Regions from separate parts of the Homo sapiens genome. Here all the other regions are linked to region 1. The links are contacts of gene promoters, found by promoter capture Hi-C in blood cells and fetal thymus (Javierre and others, 2016). All regions are on one chromosome and are shown on one strand. Each heading gives the region's core, a stretch centred on a gene start or on the middle of the fragment in contact. The rest is flanking DNA. Distances are from core to core; before and after follow the strand shown. Region 1 holds the start of SLC44A5 (solute carrier family 44 member 5). Region 2 overlaps SLC44A5 (solute carrier family 44 member 5). Region 3 overlaps SLC44A5 (solute carrier family 44 member 5).

What was found. Contacts are between HindIII fragments. The CHiCAGO score rates a contact against its expected background, and 5 or more counts as called.
Region 2: a fragment that was not itself captured here is called in contact with the fragment with the promoter of SLC44A5 in region 1 in 2 of 17 cell types (endothelial precursors and M1 macrophages); the score reaches 7.8 in endothelial precursors.
Region 3: a fragment that was not itself captured here is called in contact with the fragment with the promoter of SLC44A5 in region 1 in 1 of 17 cell types (M1 macrophages); the score reaches 5.1 in M1 macrophages.

Annotation. Positions count from the first base shown.
Region 1 is chr1:75,609,061-75,614,002 of GRCh38, reverse strand. SLC44A5 (solute carrier family 44 member 5) reads left to right here and starts at 2,889. Exons shown (of 24, transcript NM_001130058.2): 1 at 2,889-2,963. The HindIII fragment of the contact is 10,824 bases long and covers 302-4,942 here.
Region 2 is chr1:75,226,270-75,231,211 of GRCh38, reverse strand. It overlaps SLC44A5 (solute carrier family 44 member 5), which reads left to right. Exons shown (of 24, transcript NM_001130058.2): 13 at 3,355-3,486. Among named protein-coding and RNA genes, the nearest start is that of LHX8, 94 kb to the right of the region's middle. The HindIII fragment of the contact is 350 bases long and covers 1,871-2,220 here.
Region 3 is chr1:75,243,530-75,248,471 of GRCh38, reverse strand. The region is part of intron 7 of SLC44A5 (solute carrier family 44 member 5); the gene reads left to right. Among named protein-coding and RNA genes, the nearest start is that of LHX8, 110 kb to the right of the region's middle. The HindIII fragment of the contact is 4,710 bases long and covers 894-4,942 here.

The sequences.
Region 1 (4,942 bases), core at 1,640-4,139:
AAAATTTTACAGTTTTACAGTACATGGTAGCCAGAGAAAATCTTACCCTTGAAATTAATAATCTTGGCAGAAGCACAAAAAGATACAATTAGATTGATGAAATGAGCTCATATAAGAGATTTGATGAAAAAGACACCTCCCCTTTATTCTTCCGTCCCCTCAAAACACCAAAAAGTTTTTGTTTTGTAGGTCAGTATGGAATCATTTGTATTTTCTTGAATAAGTTTAATTTGATAGTGAAATAATTGAAGAATAGCAGTTAAGTGTTAACAGTTTCTCTGGAAGGATTAATAATCAAGCTTTCTTACGACATGTGGTCTCAATAAATTTTATGTAGTACTTTAAAAATAAGGTTTTCTCATGCTACATGTTTTTCTTAAAGGAAAAGTTATGTTACTTAGCTCCTATCAACTTGTGTTGAGTTGTTCTTGTTTTTTAAAACAAGTTCATTTAGTATTTCACAGAAAGAAGGACACCTTTAAAAACAAATCCTTGGAGTTTCACTTTAGCGAAGCAGGATGAATTGTGATATTTGATAGATGACAGAAGCAAACCCAGAAAGTTGTAATCTATTGACTTGCCTCAATTTTGCCTTTTAAGAGGAGAGCTCTACAAAAGCATCTGACTGCAGGCTTGCTGAACTGCTCTCAGATGTCTGCTTCTAAGCTACAACCAACTAAACTGGGACTGCCTGGTAGGAAAAATTTCTAGGCTTTATTGGCAGGGGCAGGCTACTGGGGTGAACTTTGCTGGATAAAACACTGTAGATTTAGCAATATTCCATGCTGTGTTGGTTATTCTCTTACAAGAGCTGCTTCTCTGCTTAGCTACACCGCATGCAGGGAGAGATCATTCGTCGGATCTTGTGACAGGCAAGTTGCTCATTGGCTTCTGAAGTCCTAGCAAGAGAGACTATCCATAAGCCTAGAAATTGGCCAAAGAGAAATGCAGTTTCTTAACATTGATAGAAGAATAAGATCTGTTGGCAGGATTTCTCAAGGGACATTAGCATTCATTTGTGACATCTCATCAAAAGGACAGTCTTTCAGAAAGGCCAATGGAATCTTTTACAATCCAATATTGATAATGTTTTTAACGAAAAAATGCTATAGTTCATAATCAATACAAGTCTTATAAATGCAAGCTGGTTACATTGGTTATAATCACGTCACCACCCCCACCCCTGCCTTTTCCAATATTAGTACAACAAAGACTTCTTGCTCAATTACTTAAGTGTAAAACTTATGTTTAGGTTAATTTATTCATTTATTCATTTAGCACATATTTATTGAGCACTGAATATGTACCAGATTCTGTGCAAAACACTAGGGATACGGTAATGAACATGATAGACAATGAAGTAAGAGGAGGCCTGGAAGAAGCAGGTGACAAATAATATGAACCAGAAAATTTCACATAGTGATTAATACCAGGAGAAATAAAACAAAGTGATGTGCGAGCAAATGATTTTGAGGTTACTTTAGATTGTCTGGAAAGGTGGCATTTGTGTCGGGAAACAAGTGATGAAGAGTAATTTGCATGCCAAGAACTGGAACATAACACTTCAGGCCTTAAGGTAGAAATGAGGTGGTAGCTTGGCACATTCACATACAAAAGGAAGAGGTGTAATGTGTAAGGAAGAGACAGTTAGGGAGAAGCCAGGCCTTTTTGGTCATAAAAAGGAATATAGAGTTTAAGTGCAATGAGAAGCCATTGGATATTCACTTGCTATTTGGGGATACATTCCTCTCCTGGAAGATTATTTCAGGGAGAGGAGCATTCCTACATCAACTCCCTAGGCCAACTAAGGTGACCTAATAGACTTCACTTTTCTAAAAGGTCCAGTTATACTCACGTTATTTTCTCTTGCTATTCACCAGAATACCTATGCAATTTCAGGCTGAGATATTGATAGCATCTCTAGGAATCCCTGCTTAGAAAACAATTCTAGAGAGAATGAGGATTAATTTAACATTTAGTACAAGATGATAAGATTAGTCACTTCCCTGGCAAGCCTTTCAATGCAAGTAAGTCTTAGGAAAAACATATTGTAATGGTAGAGGGGGATTCTGAGGGGTCCAGAACATGACTGTGCAGTAGGCAGAATGTGGAAGGCAGCATGAGGGGCTCCTAGATAACAGAAAGGGGTCCACAGAAGGAGAAGAGTGATGTTTGGAAGGGGACATGAGAAAGCCTCTAAAACAACATCAGCCAATTCGTGATTTTGCCAAGTGGAAGCCTGATATGAGCATGTTCCAAGAGAAACATTCTCATTCAAACACAGAAAAAGTTTAAACCAGGGTACTTTTATGCTTTTGACTGATCTTTTTATAATGAAGCATTTGTAACAATAAAAGCACACAGATGTTTACAAAGTCTCTTTGATTTTACTTAATCACTGTCAGGTTGTTCTGATGGATTACAGACCTCACAAATGAAAATAGCATGAACATATTAATGATAACTGCTGTTTGTTGGAGGTAGTTGCTTGATAGCTAGTTAAGGAAATCATGCTCTTGGGTCTCATTTTACTGTAGAGATGTTGGTAAGTGGGATATGGGGTATATTGGATGATTTTCTTTCCCCTAAGCATTTGTGACAAGAAGGTGCTATGATATTCAGGAAAGACACAAATAATAGTAGATTATTTTAAAGGTAATCATGGCCTACTTCCACCTCCAAACTACCTACTTCTTTGCCAAGGATTAACAATGAAAAAATATACTATAGCTCCAGGACTTTGTTCAGTCTCCTCCCCCTCTTTATACTCCAAGTGACTCCTTTGAGGCTAGCAAGGCTAGTAGGACCTCAGGGATTACCTAAGAATGGGGTATGGCCCTTAGTGATACTGGAACACAATGTGTTTATGACATCAGCTTTTTTTTCACAGTAGTGAATCGTAGCATGTTAGAGTTAGAAGGTTCAGTGTTGATGGAGTTATTGAAGAAATGATGGAGTAAGAGGTGAGTGATACTGCTAAATGCAAGAAGTCTATGTCTGTAGGAAAATTGGTCAAGTTTGTTATTCATAAGTACGTATTCTATACAACTCAAGAAATACACACACACACACACATATATATAGTGAAGTCTGAATATAAATTAGGAACTGAGCACTTCCTCTCCGTGTGTGTGTGTGTATATATATAGATATCCTGGGGGATTATTTAAAGAGAGTAGTATTTTTACATCAGCTCCCTAGGCCAAGTAAGGTGACCCAATGGACTTCACTTTTCTAAAAAGTCCAGTTACACTTATGTATCTTCTCTTAATATTCACCAAAATATCGACAATATTTCGGGCTGAGATGTTGATAACATCTCTAGGAATCCTTACCTACTGGTATTCACACCTGTTCATACTCCCCTTCCAAAATGAATCACAGCTGACCATGTGATCAGTACTGTACAGCAGAAAACTACATCATAAAGACATACACTATGGCTTCTGCCTTGTTCTTTTGTATTCTTTGCTTTCTTATGTTGCTCATTTTGGGGAAACCAGATGCCATGTTTTAAAAATACTCAAGGATCCCTTGGATTATTTTTTGAAGCAGAGGTTCATACAGATATTATTAACATTTCAGCCCAAAATATTGTCGGTATTTTGATGAATAGTAAGAGAAGATACATAAGTATAACTGCACTTTTTAGAAAAGTGAAGTCCATTGGGTCACCTTACTTGGCCTAGGGAGCTGATGTAGAAATATTGCTCTCTCTAAATAATTCTCCAGGATATCTATGTGTATATAGGTATATGTATGTATATGTATATACCTATGGAGAGAGAAGAAGAGCTCAGTTCCTAATTTATATTCAGACTTCACTATGTGTGTGTGTGTGTGTGTGTGTGTGTGTGTGTGTGTGTATTTCTTGACTTGCATAGAAGTCTTGAATCTTAGCTCTGTGTGGGAAGAACTGAGGCCTCCTGCTAATAGCAACAACTTGCTAGTTATGTGAGTGATCTATCTTGGGAACAGACCCTGCAACCAAGTCAAGCCTTCAGATGACTGTAGCTTCAGCCAACATCTGACTGAATTTCATGATAGCCCCGACCCAGAGCTATCCAATCAAGCTGCTTCTGGATTCCTGAATCACAGAAACCATAAGATATAATAAATGCTTACTCTTGTCTTAAACCACTAAAATTTGGGGGTAATAGGTTACATAACATTAGATCATGAATATACCTGTGGTTCATTATTTTTGCACCTCTATCATGAAATGTAATATTTGTTACTAGTTCCAACACTGATCTTGAATCTTAGCCCTCTTTCCTATTTAGTGAATTGGGCTGAAACCCTGAAGTTCTCTTTTCTTGTTTCCCTTGAGTTTCTTGTAGCAGCTTGCTTTCTCCTCTGCTTTTTTGAGTACTGATTCCTGGCTCCTCTAGTTCATTTAGTTTAGAAGATACTTTCCAAATTGAAGCACTACCGAACCAAAAATCAGAGTGATAAAGAGAATACAAAAGCCCTAAAATCTCCCAACAGCACAAGATTTCACAGTCCTCCAAACTAAGAAGATAGAAAGTTTCTTAAAATCTACAATCTTTTATTCTCACCATCAAAAATAAGAATGTAAGGTAATGAATATGTTAAATAGCTTGATTTAGCCATTCCACAATGTGTATATATATCAAAACATCAGGTTTCACACCATAAATATATAAATTTTTACTTGCCAATTAAAAAAGAAAAAACCCAAAGAAATGAAACCCTAAAATATTCAAATAAAAACCTTTCCAGCTGTATTTATCTATTCCTCCTTACCAAAGAATCCCTTCCTCCTCCCAGCCCAGTTAGTCCTTTGAGGTATAAATAGGAGACTGAGAAAGAGGATTTAAGAAAGGAAGGTTGCCGTCTCTTCTACTTGAGAGTAGGATATTAATCTATTTTATTCGTTCATGTAGTTCTCTATTCATTCAATAAGTGTTAATCAATCGCT
Region 2 (4,942 bases), core at 796-3,295, 380 kb after region 1:
AGCAGAACAGGGGATCATACCTGAAACTCCTGGAGTAAGTCTGGCATCCTAGAAATGTCTAAAATGACCCCAGTTTGTTAGTACCCTTTGACTGCCAAAATAAACAAATGTAAATCTCCTCTAGATGAAAGTTTCCTCAATTAACATCACCAGGTTTTCACAGATTCAGATCAATAAAGTCCGAGACTACCTGACCTGCAAGAAAACAGTTCTGTGTGAAAATCAGTGGATACTATAAACATGAGATTGAGGTCTCCAAGAATTCAAATATGGGAATTAATAGATATAGAACATGTAGCTGGCTGCAGTGGCTCACTCCTATAATCCTAGCACTGTGGGAGGCCGAGGCGGCCAATCACTTGAGGTGAGGAGTGGGAGGCCAACCTGGCTAACGTGGTGAAACCCTGTCTCTACTAAAAATACAAAAATTAGCTGGGCATGATGGTGCATACCTGTAGTCCCAGCTACTTGGGAGACTGAGGTGGGAGAATTGCTTGAATCTGGGAGGAGGAGGTTGCAGTGAACCGAGATCATGCCACTGCACTCCAGCCTGGGCAACAGAATAAGACTCTGTCTCAAAAGACAAAAACAAATCAAGAAAGAAAGATATAGAACATGAAATAACCATGCATGAAAGGTTTAAAGAATTAAAGATAGAATCACAGCCAGGTACAGTGGCTCACACCTGTAATCCCAGCACTTTGGGAAGCTAAGGCAGGTGGATCGCAAGGTCAAGAGATTGAGACCATCCTGGCCAACATGGTGAAACCCCGTCTCTGCTAAAAAAAATATAAAAATTAGCTGGGCATGGTAGCACACACCTGTAGTCCCAGCTACTCGGGAGGCTGAGGCACGAGAATTGCTTGAACTCAGGAGGCGGAGGTTGCAGTGAGCTGAGATTGTGCCACTGCACTCCAGCCTGGGTGACAGAGCGAGACTCTGTCTCAAAAAAAAAAAAGTGAATTCATTCATTCATGGACATGGAGTATCATTTATTAAAGGCTTGGGCAACAAAAATAAAAATCAACAAAAACGTCCAGGCATACATGAAGAAGAGCCATATAGAACTTTTCAAAATAAAAATGTTAGATTAAAAACTAATTGATAAGCTAAACAGCAAAATAGAGAATTAATGAACTGAAATATGAATCTGAAGTAATTACCAAAAATATAGCAGAATGTAACAAGGGGACAAAAATATGATTGTGTGGTTCAAAGAAATAGAAAATAGGTTGAGAAAGGCCTAACATATATCAACCATATTTGAAAGCTCTTGGCTGAGAATTTTCTAGAACCGATGAAACCATGGATCCATAGATATAGGAAGCCCTCATTATACTAAGGAGAGTAAAGGAAGAGAAATCCACATCTAGTCATACATTATTCTGTTTATTCAACAAATATCAATTGAACAGCTGCTGTGTACAGACACTATTTTAGACTCTTGATGTACAACAGTAAAGGAACAGACTAAGGTTCTTACTCTCATGATGCTCATAGCCTAAGTAATATATATCTTAGAAGGTGGTTATTGCTATGGAAAAAAGAAAAGGTAGAGCAGGTAAGGGGAGATTGAGAATGCCATGGTAGGGCAAGGAGTGAAAATGGCAGTATTAGCAGGAGGGCTCTTTTGGGGAAAATATCTAAGAAAACACTTGGAAGCAATGGAGTTAGACAGTTAAGATGAAGGAAAAGTTCCAGACAGTGGGTACAGCTGGAGCAAAGGCCTTATAACATAAGAGTGTGTTGAAGAAGTGGCTGAGAGCTTGGTGTGGATGGGTGTACTGAGTAAAGGAAAAAATAGTAGGAGATGAGGTCATAGAATTTATGAAGGGGGCAGAGCCTTACAGATTATTATAAAACCTAAGCTTTTACTCTGAATGAAACAGGGAGGCAATGTAGGGCTTTGGGTAGCAAAGAGATGAGATATAATGATTGCCCTAGTCCCTGTGTTGAGAATAGACCATGGTGAGGCAAGAGTGGAAGCAACGAGACCAGTAAGGAGATGATTGCAGAAATTTATATGCCAAATGAGAGAAACTCTTGAGGGTGGCCATACATGCTTTTATTTGTATAATAGCTGTATTTCCTGATGGATTGAATGCAGCTATGAGAGACAGAAGAAGGAGAATGATTCCACAGAAATATATGAGATGTAATACAAAAATAAAAAATAAAAAAAAGAAAACATAGTGAGCAAAGAATATAAATTAGTAAGCTTTTAGGTAAAGCTAAACAAACTTTGCCTGCATAAAATAATAATTGCTTTAGACATTGGACACTAAAATTATTATTTTATGCAGGCAAAATTTGTTTAGCTTTACCTACATGCTAACTAATTTATTTAAAATGTACATAACAAAATTATTGAGCAATAATTAGAGTGGGTGATTATTGAGTAACTAAGGTCTTGTATTTCCTTGTTAACATATTGACTCTAGGCTTATTAAAAAAAGAACAGATTTTCAAGGTAATCTATTATAAAAATAGAGTAGATTGCTCAAAAAGAGTAGAGAAGAAAAATGGAATATAAGTAAACAAACAAAAAATCATCAATTTTTAAAAGACAAGAATTGGAAGAAAAGAAGTATAGACACAAAGTAGAATACGAAAAGCAAAATTAAGAACATAGAAACAAATATAAATATATCAGTATATAAAGTATAAATATGTTAAACTCACCAATTAGAATACAGAGATTGTCAGGTCAGATTAAAATATACACATACAAATTGGAGCTATAAATTATTTATAAAAGTTATACAACATGTAAGGAAACAGAACATTTGCAAGTGAAGGGATGGAAAGAATATACTAGCAATCAATAACAAAAGAAAGTGGAAGAAGACATAATATCAGACAAAACAGATTTTAGAATGACAATGTTATGGATAAAAATGATTTAGTTCACTAAAAATATGCCAACCCTAAACTTGTTACATCTATTAAAATAACCTCAAAAATCATAGAATTGCAAGGATAAATAAATAAATGGATAATCATAAATTCGTATTAGGTATAAACCTTAGGAGGAGTTTTTGACGCATCTTTCTACTGAACAAATATATCATGATGTCTTACTGATGGACATTAAGGTCATTTCTAGTCAAAAGGACATTTAAAGCCAGATGTTGCCATAATTATCAAGACAAATACTGAAAACATTTATATCAAATACAGTAGCATGTTTAGACTATTGGATCCAAATAAAATATTTGCTGTGTAAATATGTGTCTTGCCTTTGCAGAAATTACCATGCTGATCAGTTTCATATAGATATGTATGATGAGCACATATAGCTCCTATTTCAGAAAATCATATTTTATATTATTCTGTTTTTCTTTCTTTTTCAAGGAATATGGCACTGTTACCAGCAGTACACCAATCTTCAGGAACGCCCAAGTTCTGTATTAACTATCTATGACATCGGGATTCAGACTAACATAAGCATGTACTTTGAACTGCAACAAACATGGTTCACATTTAGTGAGTATTTTAAAAACTGGTTTCATTAAAATTGTAATAATGAGAAAATATCTTTTTGCCTAAAGGAAAACTTGGGTTGGTATAACCTGTTAAATGTATTTATCACTAGTGTCATAAAAAGTAATGTGTCTATAATCCTCTAACTACAGTAAGTGGAAAAGTCATTGAGGAAAATTTATTGTATAATCTAAGAAAATGCTACCTTACAAGGACCTCAAGCCATTTGCCTTCAAATTAAAATTGTTTGGTTGTAGACATTTATAGGCATTAACCTGAGGTCTAAGAAAGATGTTTAAAAAGAAACAAATGCTTGATTTTTCAAACTTTTTATTTATTTATTTATTTATGTATTTAATTTTCTGAGATAGGATCTTGCTCTATCACCCAGGCTGGAGTGCAGTGGCACAATCATGGCTAACTTCACCCTTGACCTCCCAAACTCAAGCAATTCTACCACCTCAGCCTCCCAAGTAGCTAGGACCACAGATGTGTGCCACCATGCCTGGCTAATTTTTTAATTTTTTGTAGAGATGGGGTCTCCCTATGTTGCCTAGCCTGGTCTTGAATTTCTGGGCTCAAGTGATCCTCCCACCTCAGCCTTCTAACATGCTGGCATGAGCCACCGTGCTGGCGTGAGCCACCGTGCCCAGCCTGAAACTTGTTTTTAAAAAAGAAAAAGGAAAAGGAAAAACAAGCAACAATTTTTCATAACAAAACATTTAAACCACTTATAGGAATTATGAGTAATAAGTATCTGAAAATAAATTTGCATTTTTGAAGTGTTTCTTCAAGGTTTTTAATTTCTTAAGGATATTTTTTAATATTAACAAATGTAAATATTTATTTAAATGTAACAAAATTTTTTAAGCAGGATGATTTTAGTGATGGTTTTAATCTTATATTCCTAGAATGGTGTTATTGTAATACTCCTTGTAAGATTTGTGTTCTTTAATCAAGATTTTCAAAATAATCTCTAACTACATGTTGCTTTAAAAAAAAATCATCTTTATATTCTTGAAGTTAGAGAGCCAGACAAGACACATTCAAGGAAGCCTGGTAAGAAGCCCAGAAAGAACCTCAGAAGGGAGCAATATCTTGGTGGGGCATCATGATTACAGGCATGCGTCCCATTCCCATCAATTTGAAAACTTGACTTTGCCACTTCATTCAAGGATACTCAGGCTTTCAAGGACAAGCTCATGTTAAGTCACCAAAGCACCCTACATTTGTTTACATCATTAGGATAGTCTCCTGGTGACCAAAGTGCAGACATTTTCCATATAGGACACTACCTTCCTGGGATCAGAGCACCTGGAAAGCAAGATTACCAATCAGAAGCTATTTTAGCAAAGGGGCTCAGACAGCGGTGGGAGATGCTTTCCTCAGATGATGCCAACCTTGATGACCTAGCTGAGCAGCACAGATGTCCCTCCCAGATTCCTTCTCCACCGCATTT
Region 3 (4,942 bases), core at 1,999-4,498, 370 kb after region 1:
TACTCATTCTGCCTTCCCTCTAATTCCCCATGGGTGAACTGCCTGTGCTTCTAAGACCAGCCCATCCATTTGTGTATTAAATCTCATCCTCTTGCATAATTAAGCACATCACTTTGAAATGTTTTTTTATTATCATTTTTTCCTTCTCTACTAAATTATCTCCATCAATATACAAAGCTATGGCTTGATCATTCATCCTCTTCAAGTATTTCTGCAAATGTTACCTTCTTAGTGAGGCTTCCTTGAATACTTATTCAAAACTATAATTCCACCCAGCCATTCCTCTCTGTCTCTAGTATCCTTTCTATCCTTTTTTACTTACCATCTTATACCATCTTATTCATTACCACTTATTACCATCTTACAACAAACATTTTACTTATCTGTCATTTGGTTCCTGTCTCACCCTACTAGAAGACAAATTGCTTAAGGACAAGGATTTTTATCTGTTTTGTTCACTACTGTTATTTCTTTAATCTTAAAAAATTTTTCCCTTGATCCCACATCCCCCTCCAGCTACTGGTCCATATCTCTGTGCCTCTTTTATTTTTTTTCAAAACTCCTCAAAAGAATAGTCCACATTTATCTATCTAAATCCTTTCCTCTCACTCTCATCCAAGCTTTTATCCCTACTTCAATTTCCCCTAAACAATACCATCGACCTCAACATTATTAAGCTAATGGTTAGTATTAAATCCACATTTACTTGATCTAACAACAGTATTTAATCAATCCCACCTCCTTAAAATACCTTTTTCACCTGGCTTCCAGGGCACAACATTCTTCTATATTTCCTCCCAACTCTCTGTCTACTCCCTATCAGTCTCCTTTGATGAGTTATCTTAATCTTTCTAACATCTTTTAAACACTGCATTTCCCTCCCACAAGAAGCTTGGTCCTTTTCTAAGTCTGTATTTACTTTTTTGATGATCTCACCTAGTCCATTGGGTTTAACACCATCTACTTGCTGACTTCTCAAATTTACATCTCCAAATAAATCTGCTCCTTGAGTTCCAGACCTTTCTATCCAACCACCCATGTGATATTTCTACATGAATATTTGGTTGGCATCTCAAATTTAACATGTCCACAACTGAATTCCTAATCTCTGACTTTATCCCTAAAATTGTTCCCCACCCCAATGTATTCCCTGTCTCAATTAATGCCAGCTCCAAATACCTTGATTTCTACCTTATCCTTGATTTCTCTCTCTCTCATACCCATGTTTGAGCTCTCCTTAGGTCTCCCTCCAAAATGTACCCTGAGCCAAACTATTTCTCACCACCTCTTCCCTAGTTCAAGGAGCCATCACCTCTTTTTTAGATTAGTTCAAGGATCTCCTGACTGGTCTTTCTGTTTCTGTCCTTGCCCCCTTATCCTTTGCAGTCTCTTTTCCACCCAGTAACCAGTGTGGTCCTGTTAAATATAAGTCTGATTATGTCTCTTCTTTGCTTAAATGCCCCAATAGCTTCCCAAGTTACTTATATGAAAAGCCAAGGTCCTAACAATGACCTGTAAGATCCTTCACTGTCTGACCCACTCTCTGACCACATATCCTATTCTACTCCCTTTTCTCACTACACTTGGGTCACACTGGCCATTTGTTGTACTAATACTTGAAAGGATCCAGGAACTCTCCTGCCTTAGAGACTTAGACTTTGCTGTTCTCCCTACCTAGAGAATTATTTTTCCAGATGACTGTATGTCTTGATTGCTCATCCTGTCCAAGAATTTCTGCAAATGTTACCTTCTTAGTGAGGCTTCTTTGACTACCTCTTCAAAATTAGAATCCCACGCAGCCACTCCTTTCTCTCTCTGTAGCCTCCTTTCCAGCCTTATTTATTTATCATCTTATACCATCTTATTTACTACTATTTATTACCATCTTATGACAAACATTTTACTTATTTATTATTTCTTATATGTCTCCCACTACCACTACTGGAAGACAAATTGCTTGAGGGCAAGGATTTTTATGTGTTGTTCACTACTATTTCTGTCCTCAGTGCCTGGAACAGGCTCAGAGTAGGGGATCAGTAAATATTTATTAAATGAATGAACAAATGACTGAATGAATGAGAGAATGAATATCTTCCTACTTCTAGTTAAGAATTTTTCCACTGTACTCTACAAATCTATCATTCCTATGATAAAACAAAATATACTTGCATATTATGCTTTTTTCTTGTTTCATAAATGAGTTACTAGATCATCTTTTCTTCATAACAAATGTGGTGTTTTAACCTTCAATGTAATTCACTCTCCCAGCCACCAAATTCCAATTTGTAACTGAGTGTTAAGACTATCTGAATTAAAGATAGAAATGGTAATACAGAGCTTTATGCAAAGTGCCCTTTGTGGTGCACAGAGAATCAGAACTGAGTCAGAATTAGCTCTTATTAGCTGAGTCATTATTGACTGCTAATAATGAAGACTTGCATTTAGTCTTCCAGACGGTGCATCTACTGATCTGAGCCATATTTCTATGCACGATGTTTTTGTTAACTGCTGGCATGGTCCAGACATGTGTCACAAGCACTTAAAGGACAGACTGTGATCAATTAGAACATCCAATCTCAATGTGACCTTCATTTTGGCTAATTATATGTTGATTACTACTAATCTGCACCCTATTTGAAGTGAACAAATTGGTCTGATAGAGGGAGAAAGTAAAGTGCAGTTGTATTGTTTTTTAACAGCTCATTTGTGTCTAGAATGAGATTTGATGTGATTCTCCTTAACAAACTACGTTTTACTATTTTAATTACTTTCTTTTATGTGTTGCATACACAGCACTTTTCTATGTGTAGTATACATTGTTTGTGTGTGCTTTATAAATACAGAATCATCATGGTCTCAATTCAGAAGTACCTACCATCATTTAAAGCCTGTGAAAGCATTAGTTCTTTCAGTACTCACTTATAAATCCATTTAAGTGTATTCAATAGAAGTAGTTCAGTTGTCTTTCAAAGTTACATGAGTCAATTGTTGAAGTCTAAATGTCTGTCAAGTATCTCCTAATATGTTAATGGTTTATTCAGCTTGGCTCCAATCAGAATGAACTTTTGACATTTGCATTGATAATCATCTTAACCTTCTAAAAGATGTGGGTGTGTTGCATGCTGTGAATGTCCCTAAATTGTTCTTCAGCTTTCTTAGAAAGATACCTATGAAGCCACTAATATTTTCTCTGAAGGTACATGAATATGCAAATGTCATTGTGTGTGTGCATGCACACGTGTGGATGAGAGACTAAGAAAGAGGAAATACATGTGGAGGTGTGGATGTGGAGATGAGTTGTTTGCCCTGCCAAAATTTCTAGAGGGAATTGAACTGCTATTGCTTCAAGAAAATATTAACTGTGAGAGAGGCCTATACATTTTGTTATTCTCCTGCTAACTTAGCTGTAGGGTCCACACCAAATGCCTTTGTGTACAGCAGGTACATAACCCAAAAGATGGAAAGGAGATGTCAGCTAAGCAGCAGTGTTTTTACCTAACTGCCAATGAGTTGAGCTACAATTTGGCCAATGAGAATAATTACCAGAGTAGGGAGATGGAGCAAGTCAGGGCTGAGAAAGATTTCAGAAGAAGGAACTAAAGGTGATGGAGAGACTTGAAAGGGTTAGCTGCAGCTCACATGGCTTCATCTGACTTTTGTTTTTTATTGTAAAAAAAAGCAAAACCAATAGTGTATCTCCTCTGATTCTGCCTTCCCTCTGTGGAGTTACTAATTGGATTTCAGTCACTCTGTGGTGGCTTCGTGAAGTAGCATGGTGATCTGGCTTGGCACTGATAGGCCCCCAAAGTTTATTAATGTAAAATAATTGCAAAGATGACCTCTCTGTCCACATTTAGATGGTATTGGTAAAAGACCATAATGATGATTGATTGTGCCAAATAGCCTTGATTTGTTAGTTTCTTATGGTGATAAAACCCCAGTTACATTTTGAGAATTGTGTTTGAGAATTCACGGGCACTAATAATTATTAGTGTCATAGGTGTTCAATATTCAGAGAATTTTAAATCATCATTTTATTCATATTTAGGAAAGGAAGGAAGATTTTAACCCTGAATATGCATTGACTACACAAGCAATATTAATCTTAAATTATACTGTAAAATCATAAAGTGTTTTATTAAAAGTCCATCTCTGTCCTGTGGTAGTGATCACACAACCACATGTCTGATAAAATGGCATAGAACTACGCACATACACAGGCACACAGAAACAAGTGAATATAAAACGGGTGAGCTCTGAGTAAGGTTAGTGTCTTCTAACTGTCTTACTCTGCTTAGTGTTGCTACAAAAGGAATACCTGACGCTGGGTAATTTATAAAGAAAAGAGGTTTGTTTGCTTATGGTTCTGCAGGCTGTACAAGAAACATGGAGCCAGCATTGCTTCTGTTGAGGGCTTCAGCTTTCTGCTTTCCACTCATACCAGAAGGCAAAGAGGAGCTGGCATGTGCAGAAATTACATGGCTAGTGAGGAAGCAAGAGAGAGGATGAGGGAGGTGCCAGGCTCTTTCTAACAACCAACTCTTGAGGGAATTAATAGATTAAGAAGCTACTCATCATCACAAGAACAAGGAGGATCTGCCCTCATGAACACCCCATTAACAGGACAGATGCTTCCCTGAACTATAAGAACAGGGTGCTGCTGCATCTATGAACCCAAACACCTCCCATTAGGCCCCATCTCCAACACTGGGGATCAAATTTCAACATGAGGTATGTGGGGACAAATAACCAAACTATACCAGTAACAATATTAATTTCCTGCTTATGATATTGTGTTATGGTTATGAAAGTTCTTACCATTGAGGAAAACAGAGTGAAAGGTATGTGAAATCCCTATTATTCCTCACAACTACATGTTGATTTACAATTATCTCAAAATCAAAAATTAAAAATAAGTCTATCACTGTATGGTATCTTGTTT